2 separate regions of the Homo sapiens genome follow, and region 2 is linked to region 1. The links are contacts of gene promoters, found by promoter capture Hi-C in blood cells and fetal thymus (Javierre and others, 2016). All regions are on one chromosome and are shown on one strand. Each heading gives the region's core, a stretch centred on a gene start or on the middle of the fragment in contact. The rest is flanking DNA. Distances are from core to core; before and after follow the strand shown.

Evidence for each region. Contacts are between HindIII fragments. The CHiCAGO score rates a contact against its expected background, and 5 or more counts as called.
Region 2: the fragment with the promoter of PTRHD1 here is called in contact with the fragment with the promoter of FKBP1B in region 1 in 10 of 17 cell types (M2 macrophages, non-activated CD4 T cells, neutrophils and 7 more); the score reaches 11.4 in M2 macrophages.

Annotation. Positions count from the first base shown.
Region 1 is chr2:24,048,204-24,051,539 of GRCh38, forward strand. It overlaps FKBP1B (FKBP prolyl isomerase 1B), which reads left to right and starts at 1,538. Exons shown (of 4, transcript NM_004116.5): 1 at 1,538-1,683. The coding sequence starts at 1,647. RefSeq lists a silencer at 1,400-1,699. The HindIII fragment of the contact is 22,874 bases long and covers 1-2,289 here.
Region 2 is chr2:24,791,821-24,795,156 of GRCh38, forward strand. PTRHD1 (peptidyl-tRNA hydrolase domain containing 1) reads right to left here and starts at 1,571. Exons shown (of 2, transcript NM_001013663.2): 1 at 1,306-1,571. The coding sequence starts at 1,557. CENPO (centromere protein O) reads left to right here and starts at 1,605. Exons shown (of 8, transcript NM_001322101.2): 1 at 1,605-1,681; 2 at 2,032-2,145. The coding sequence starts at 2,100. It overlaps LOC105369164 (a long non-coding RNA gene), which reads right to left and starts at 1,255. Exons shown (of 3, transcript XR_939843.4): 1 at 947-1,255; 2 at 564-764. RefSeq lists an enhancer at 1,232-1,661. The HindIII fragment of the contact is 6,911 bases long and covers 1-3,041 here.

The DNA.
Region 1 (3,336 bases), core at 288-2,787:
GCATGCCTGTAATCCCAGCACTTTGGGAGGCTGAGGCGGGCGGATAACCTGAGGTCGGGAGTTCGAGACCAGCCTGGCCAACATGGTGAAACCCTGTCTCTACTAAAAATTTAAAAATTAGCCGAACGCTGGTGTCTCACGCCTGTAATCCCAGCTACTTGGGAGACTGAGGCACGAGAATCGCTTGAACCTGGGAGGCGGAGGTTGCAGTGAGCCGAGATTGTGCCACTGCACTCCATCCTGGCGACAGAGTGAAGATTCTGTCTCAAAAAAAAAAAAAAAAAAAAGGAGAGAGAGAGAGACGGGATCTCGCTATGTTACCCAGGCTGGTCTTGAACTTCTAGGCTCAAGCAATCCTCCTGCCTCGGTCTCCTACAGTGTTGAGATTACAGGTGTGAGCCATTGTTCCAAAAATTGATATACTTGGCCTCACATCAATTTTTGGAACAATGCAGGTAATAATGAGGGGGAAAAAATTTTAAAAGTCCCAATTACCCTTTAAACAAATATTACCTCCTCCAAAAAATATTTTTCTAGATTCCTGAATGTATTTTTTGGTGGAGGAGGAACTCAAAGTAGAATTCATTTACATATTCATTCATTCATTCCACAGCACTAATCACTCCATGCAGTAACTGTGTGTCCCCGTCCCTCTCAGACTTAGTACCTGGAAGACAGCCAACCTGTCTTAATTCTATTGGTATCCCCAGGGCGCATTTCTTTGCCTTGAAAATTGAGTACCCAATAAATGTGCGTCGAGCAGAACTACACGAGATGGAGAACAGGGGTTTAGGGGTATGGGGGAGAGTCAGCAATTACTGGTGTCCTCCCTCCCTCCCCCAGCTCTGCTCCTACAGATCCAGGACGCCTAGCGAGGGTAGGAACCTCTTCTGTGCTTCCGCAACGCTCTGAACTGCACGGCACTGAGCGCATCTAATTAAAGTGATGGTTTCATTAGATAGCAACACAGCGAGACCCCGTTTCTACAAAAAATAAAAATAAAAAATAAAAGATTAGCTGGGCGTGGTTGCTCGCGCCTCTAGTCCCAGCTACTTGGGTGGAGGCTGAGGAAGAAGGATCGCTTGAGCCTAAGAGTTCGAGGTTGCTGTGAGCTATGATCGCGCCACTGGACTCCAGCCTGGGCGACAGAGCAAGATCCTCTGTCTAAAATAAAAATAAAAATAAAATGATGGTTTAATCGCCGGCCTTTGCCCCTTCTGCCCCCCACCCCCCACAAGTCTGTAGGACTGGGTTGACTTCCCAGAGCTTACTACAGATTAGATGCTAAATAAATGTCTATTGGACGGATGCGCGAATGAATGGATGGATGGAGGATGTGGTTGTGCTTACCACGCTCCCTGGTCAGTGGGTTAATGTCGTCAGGCGGGGCCAGGCTCGCTAACAGCCGGGCGGGGTCCCTTCCCCCGGGCCCCGCCCCGGCCGACCCCACCTTTCCGCGCGGCTCCGCCCCGCCGCCCCCTTGCCAGTGGCCCCTCCCCGCGCAGGTCCCGACTCCAGCCGCACCTCCTCCGGCTCTGCAGTGGCGGCGAGGAGGCGAGCCGGAGCGACGGCGGGGCTGGGGCCGGAGCCGAGCCGGGGTCGGGCAGCAGCAGGGACCCCCCAGAGGCGGGGCCTGTGGGACCGCTATGGGCGTGGAGATCGAGACCATCTCCCCCGGAGACGGTACCGGGCTCCCTCCGGAGCCAGGGGAGGGGAGGGGTCCCGGGGCGGAGCCCGGAGGGCGGGGGTCTGATTCGGAGGTGGCGTGGAGGGTGCTGAAGGGTCGGGGGGCTGGATGGGGAAGGCAGGCGGAGACGCCGGACGGGATTCTTGGGGGTCTAGGAGACCATCCTCCGCCATCCTCTTCCGCGCTCACCTAGGGGAATGTAGGCGGCAGCTCGGAGGCGGGGGTCTGCGGCCCGGAGGCGGGGGTCTGCGGCCCGCCACCGCCCCGGGCTTCTCCTGTCGCGGCTGCAGTCGTTCGGTTATCCGCTGCTGCTGATACCCCAGCCTGGGTTTCGGCTTCGCTTTCCCTGCCCTACTCGGCGAGCTCTGGAAAGCAGGACCTGCTCTCGGATACCCGCTGCTCGGGGACCTCCTCCTAGCGCGTCCCCCGCCGGGCCTCCCCTCGGTCGCTTCCCTGCGGGCCGGGCTGTGAGCGGCTGTGGGGACAGACCCAGGCTGGGGAAGGGGGAAGCGCTCCCTTGCCCGCTTCCGGATCTCGCTTTATCCTGCCGCCGCTTTCAGACTCCCTGGCCACCCTGTCCACTCCCATGGCCTCCACATTGAAGCTTCTAAGCCCAGCCCTGCGACCTACGGCCGAACCTCTCCCTGGACGTCCCAGGGTGCTCCCTGGTCAGCAAGTCCAAAACAGAACTCTCGCTTCCCACCTTCTCTCCTAAGTGATCCTCTTTATCCCCCTTCCGTGTCTCACTTTCCCAAGTCCTTGTATTACTGGGTCTGGGTGTGCAAGGAATAGCCATTTCTTTATTTCTTGAAATTTAATTAATACCAAAGCCCCCATTGTCTGCAGGGTTTGATGGGCAAACTTCATATCAGATATTATTAATATGAACAGCTCCCCTCCCCAGGAAATTGGATAACTTCTTGGCTCCAGGCCATCTTCCTTGTCCAATCCCAGCCACTACTTCAGATATCCCCTGGAGTACAGGCTTCTTTGCCCACGCAGGAAACATTGCTGCTGGGTCCCAGAAAGCATCTCCCTGAGGCCTTTTCATCCCTCAGCAGCCCCTGAGCTAATCTCCCCATCTTCAGTCTCTCCTCCCTGCTTTCAATCTCGTCCCCAATCTCATATTCACTCCCTTTCTATATCATAGCCTGAAGACTCTTCTTAAAATGCAGTGGCTCACGCCTGTAATCCCAGCACTTTGGGAGGCTGAGGCGGGCGGATCACAAGGTCAGGAGTTCGAGACCAGCCTGACCAACATGTTGAAACCCCGTCTCTACTAAAAATACAAAAATTAGCTGGGCATGGTGGTACGCACCTGTAATCCCAGCTACTCGGGAGGCTGGGGCAGGAGAATCACTTGACCCTGGGAGCCAGAGGTTGCAGTGAGCTGAGATTGTGCCATTGCACTCCAGCCTGGGTGACAGAGCAAGACTCTATCTCAAAAAAAAAAAAGAAAAAAAATGCATGTTTGACTATGCCCCTCCCTCAGGCAGAAGATGTTTTAATGATTCTTCCCTCTCCCCCAGGAGGGGCCTTTGGTGCTATGGTCTATTCTCATCTTCCACACTAGAGCTTCATCTCTCACCACCTGTCCTAAGCCCACCACTAACTTTTTCCTCCAGCTTTCCCAAGCTGCCTGCAAGTTG
Region 2 (3,336 bases), core at 321-2,820, 740 kb after region 1:
CACACACTAAGCACTCAATAAATGTAGTTAATCCTGGTATTTTCTTATATTTTATTGGCCCTTCTGACTACAGCGGCACCTCAATGTAATCAGTAGCGACTCCTAAGTCCCTTTCTTGAGTCATGACTAACAACTAAGAATCATGAGACCCTCTTTTAAACTCAGGGGAGTCACTTAATCCCTGTAGGCTTCAGAGAGTTTCACCTGCGACAAGAGGAGTCTAACCTGATTTCTTGAGACCTCTTACTAGGAAGAAAATCTAAGTGAAAAGCCAGCAGCTTCTGTTCTGCCTACACAGATTCTCAAGGCATTTTTCCTACAGGTTACCGCTTGATGTTTCACTATCCAGCAGCAATTTTTCTCTTGAAAGATAATCTATCTTTGTCAGTTACCCATGAAGGGATTACTCCACCCCTCCACCTGAGTTCTGGCTTAAAGCCGTTTTTCCTTATTATAAAAAGCCGTTTATTATTAAAGCCGTTTTTCCTTATTATAAAATATGTGCTTAAGGTAGAAAATTTTAAAAATACAGATTAAGCATTAGGAAATAACCAAAATCTCACCATGCACTACTTAATATGTAGATGTATTTCTTTAGTTTTTCCTTTCAAAGTCTGGATCATTCTGTATATATAGTTCAGTTAGCTTCGCATCATGAGCACTCTTCCCGACCACTAAATATGCTTCAAAACCATAAGGGCTCCCATGAATATCCTTGTGCAAAGCTCTTTGGGTGCATCTGATTATTTTCTTAGGCTACATCTCTAGCAGCAGGATAGAGAGTCAAAGGGTAAGGGTGAGATTTGTTTGGTCATCTGCAAACAGAACCTGACTGCTATTTTAAAAGGTGTACCGATTTACACACCTGGTGCCTGGTCTAGCTGAAGCTAGGTTCAATTTATACTAACGTTTTTAGTATTTATTTTCAAATAATTTGGCGTCCTACCCAGGTAAATACTCAGTTTGACTTCACTTTGCACTGTCCCTTCGGGCTCGGTTTTGCAGGAGGACAGCACTTTGGGGCATGGCTTTAAAAAGTCGGCCAGTGCACAGGCGGAACAGCGGGGACACAGGAGCCACCACTTTACCGCGAGCCCAGCAGGGGGCGGAGGACTGCTGTCCACTCTTCACACAGTCAGGCCCTTCCCAAGGGCGCACCTCCAGGGAAACAGCTCCAGTCTAAATGTTAACGATCACCCCAACTCCCGCCGCACCCACTCCCCGCAGCCAGGCCTTCGGACCGAAGACCACACCCACTTCCGCCCTCGATGTCTCAGCACCTCCCCCTCCGCCCGAGTGCCTCACCTCGAGGACCACTTTGCGCATGCGCCCCAGCTCTTGGAGGTAAGCGGCTGTGTGCGGGTGGTCGCGGTGAGTGTGCAAGGCCGCGGTGGCCGCGTGACAAGCCTGCGCTACCAGTGCGCCCGCCGGCCAGGAGAACGGAGCTTGTGATAGATCCTTTCGTAACACCAAGTATTGTACCAGGACCTGCGGCTCCGCCCCAGAGGCCGCCATCTTCCTGACCACCCGAAAGGCCGGACCTACTCCCCGGTGCATCTTGGGATCAGGGCGGGGCCCTGAGCGCCGCCATGCTTTTGTACGGCAGGATCGCAAAGCACGCCGGGACCGGTTGGTTTGGTTTTGAAGACGTGGATGGCGGGAATTCTCGCTTCTGGCCTGGGTGAGCTAGAAGGGAGAAGGTAGGGGAAAGACCCATTGTCGGACCGGACCGTGGCCAGGGTGGCGGGCTGAACGGCCTTCTTAAAACTCCTTCCGTGGCCGGGAAGCCCGCTGGACCAGAGTAGCCGTGGCCTCGGGAGCGCGCCGGGGCCGCGGGATGGGCGCGGGGGTGGGCATGGACTCTGCTGGCTCGGACGATGGGAGAGGGCGGGCGGCTCAGGAAAGGGGATCCTAGCCGTGACATTTGTGTCATCCGCGGCCCAGGGGTTGTGCCTGAGTGGTGTGTGCCCTGCCGTCTGGGTTTGAATGGGACTAGATGTGATGTGACTGTTGCCATTTTTCTTTTATTAGCAAGGACATTGGAGTCCCTATCACCGGTTGCCTAGACAACTTCATGGGAAGGCCCTTGGGAATCTGAGATGGAGCAGGCGAACCCTTTACGTCCAGATGGCGAGTCCAAAGGAGGTATTCAGAGGGTCGCCGCCTCCTTCCTGCTGCTGCCCAAAGATGACCCGCAGGCTGAGAGAGCCCTTTCCTCCTGGAACTGACGTGGGACCTGGCCTGTTTGGGAGCAGAATAGTGAAAGGAACTAACATTGAAGACAAAGGGACAGGCAGCCAAGATTATTCGAGGAGGAAAAATGGCTTCGTTTCTAGGCTCCCACCCCTTTTGAAACGGATAAGTTGCATCCATCATATGCTCAGTGTTTATATTCTGAACTGCGGTTCTAGCCAGGGAGGTCCCTTTCCTCTCCCCGGATTTTTTGGGCCATGTATGCATTACTCTTGAGGGAGGGCCAGTGTAGGGCAGTGACTTTAGTGTTGGCTAGAACTGGTTTTGAGTGTTGGCTCTGCCATGATAAATATTGTGACCTTAGGCAAGTCACTTTATTCTCTGCCTCTGTTTCTTCATCTGGAAAATGGAGGTGAAAATAGCACTGTAGTTGTGGTTGTGGAAAAAGTATTTCTTTTGTGGTGGAAAAGTATTGAACTCAGACTTTTCAAGTGAAGCATTTAGCACATGTCTAATATATAGGAAATATTCAATGAAAGGCTTAATTCTTTACATACTTTGTGTCTTAAAATGTAGAAGGTGTTTAAAGAATGCTTGTTAGAGTTGCTTAGAATTACGAAACTATTACTTTTACTTAGTCCTTAGTCAATCCTTTGGAAACTGAGATTTGCGTTTGAATTTCTGTCCAGGAGTAAGTTGCTTTCTTCTTTAGTGCCTAGTAATATTTGTGGACAGTTCTGGTTTTGTGTGACTTTATGTTCTTTGCTACTAATACTTTTTAGAACTTTGAAATACTTACTCAAGCCTGATGCCTAAATCCAAAGGGTTCTACGTTAGTACTTTGGGAAAGCTTGCCATAAAACCTAACTTAAATTACAGTTTTAAAAAGAATTTCTGAGCGCGTCAGTGAATTTGGTTATCCTATTTTTCTCTGGGTCATCATTATCATTGATAACAGAGAAGTAACTATATTCAGCCTAAGATGACTTAAGCTGAGACTTTAGATAATAAAAGTATATGGGGTAAGATTTATTGTTACTTTAAGACTAAAAATAAGTTTGGTGACTTTATGTAGTGGAAACATGCTACACTCAGGAGTAACCTGTTCTCTAGTCCAGGCCTTATTTCATTTCTGTTAAAGTA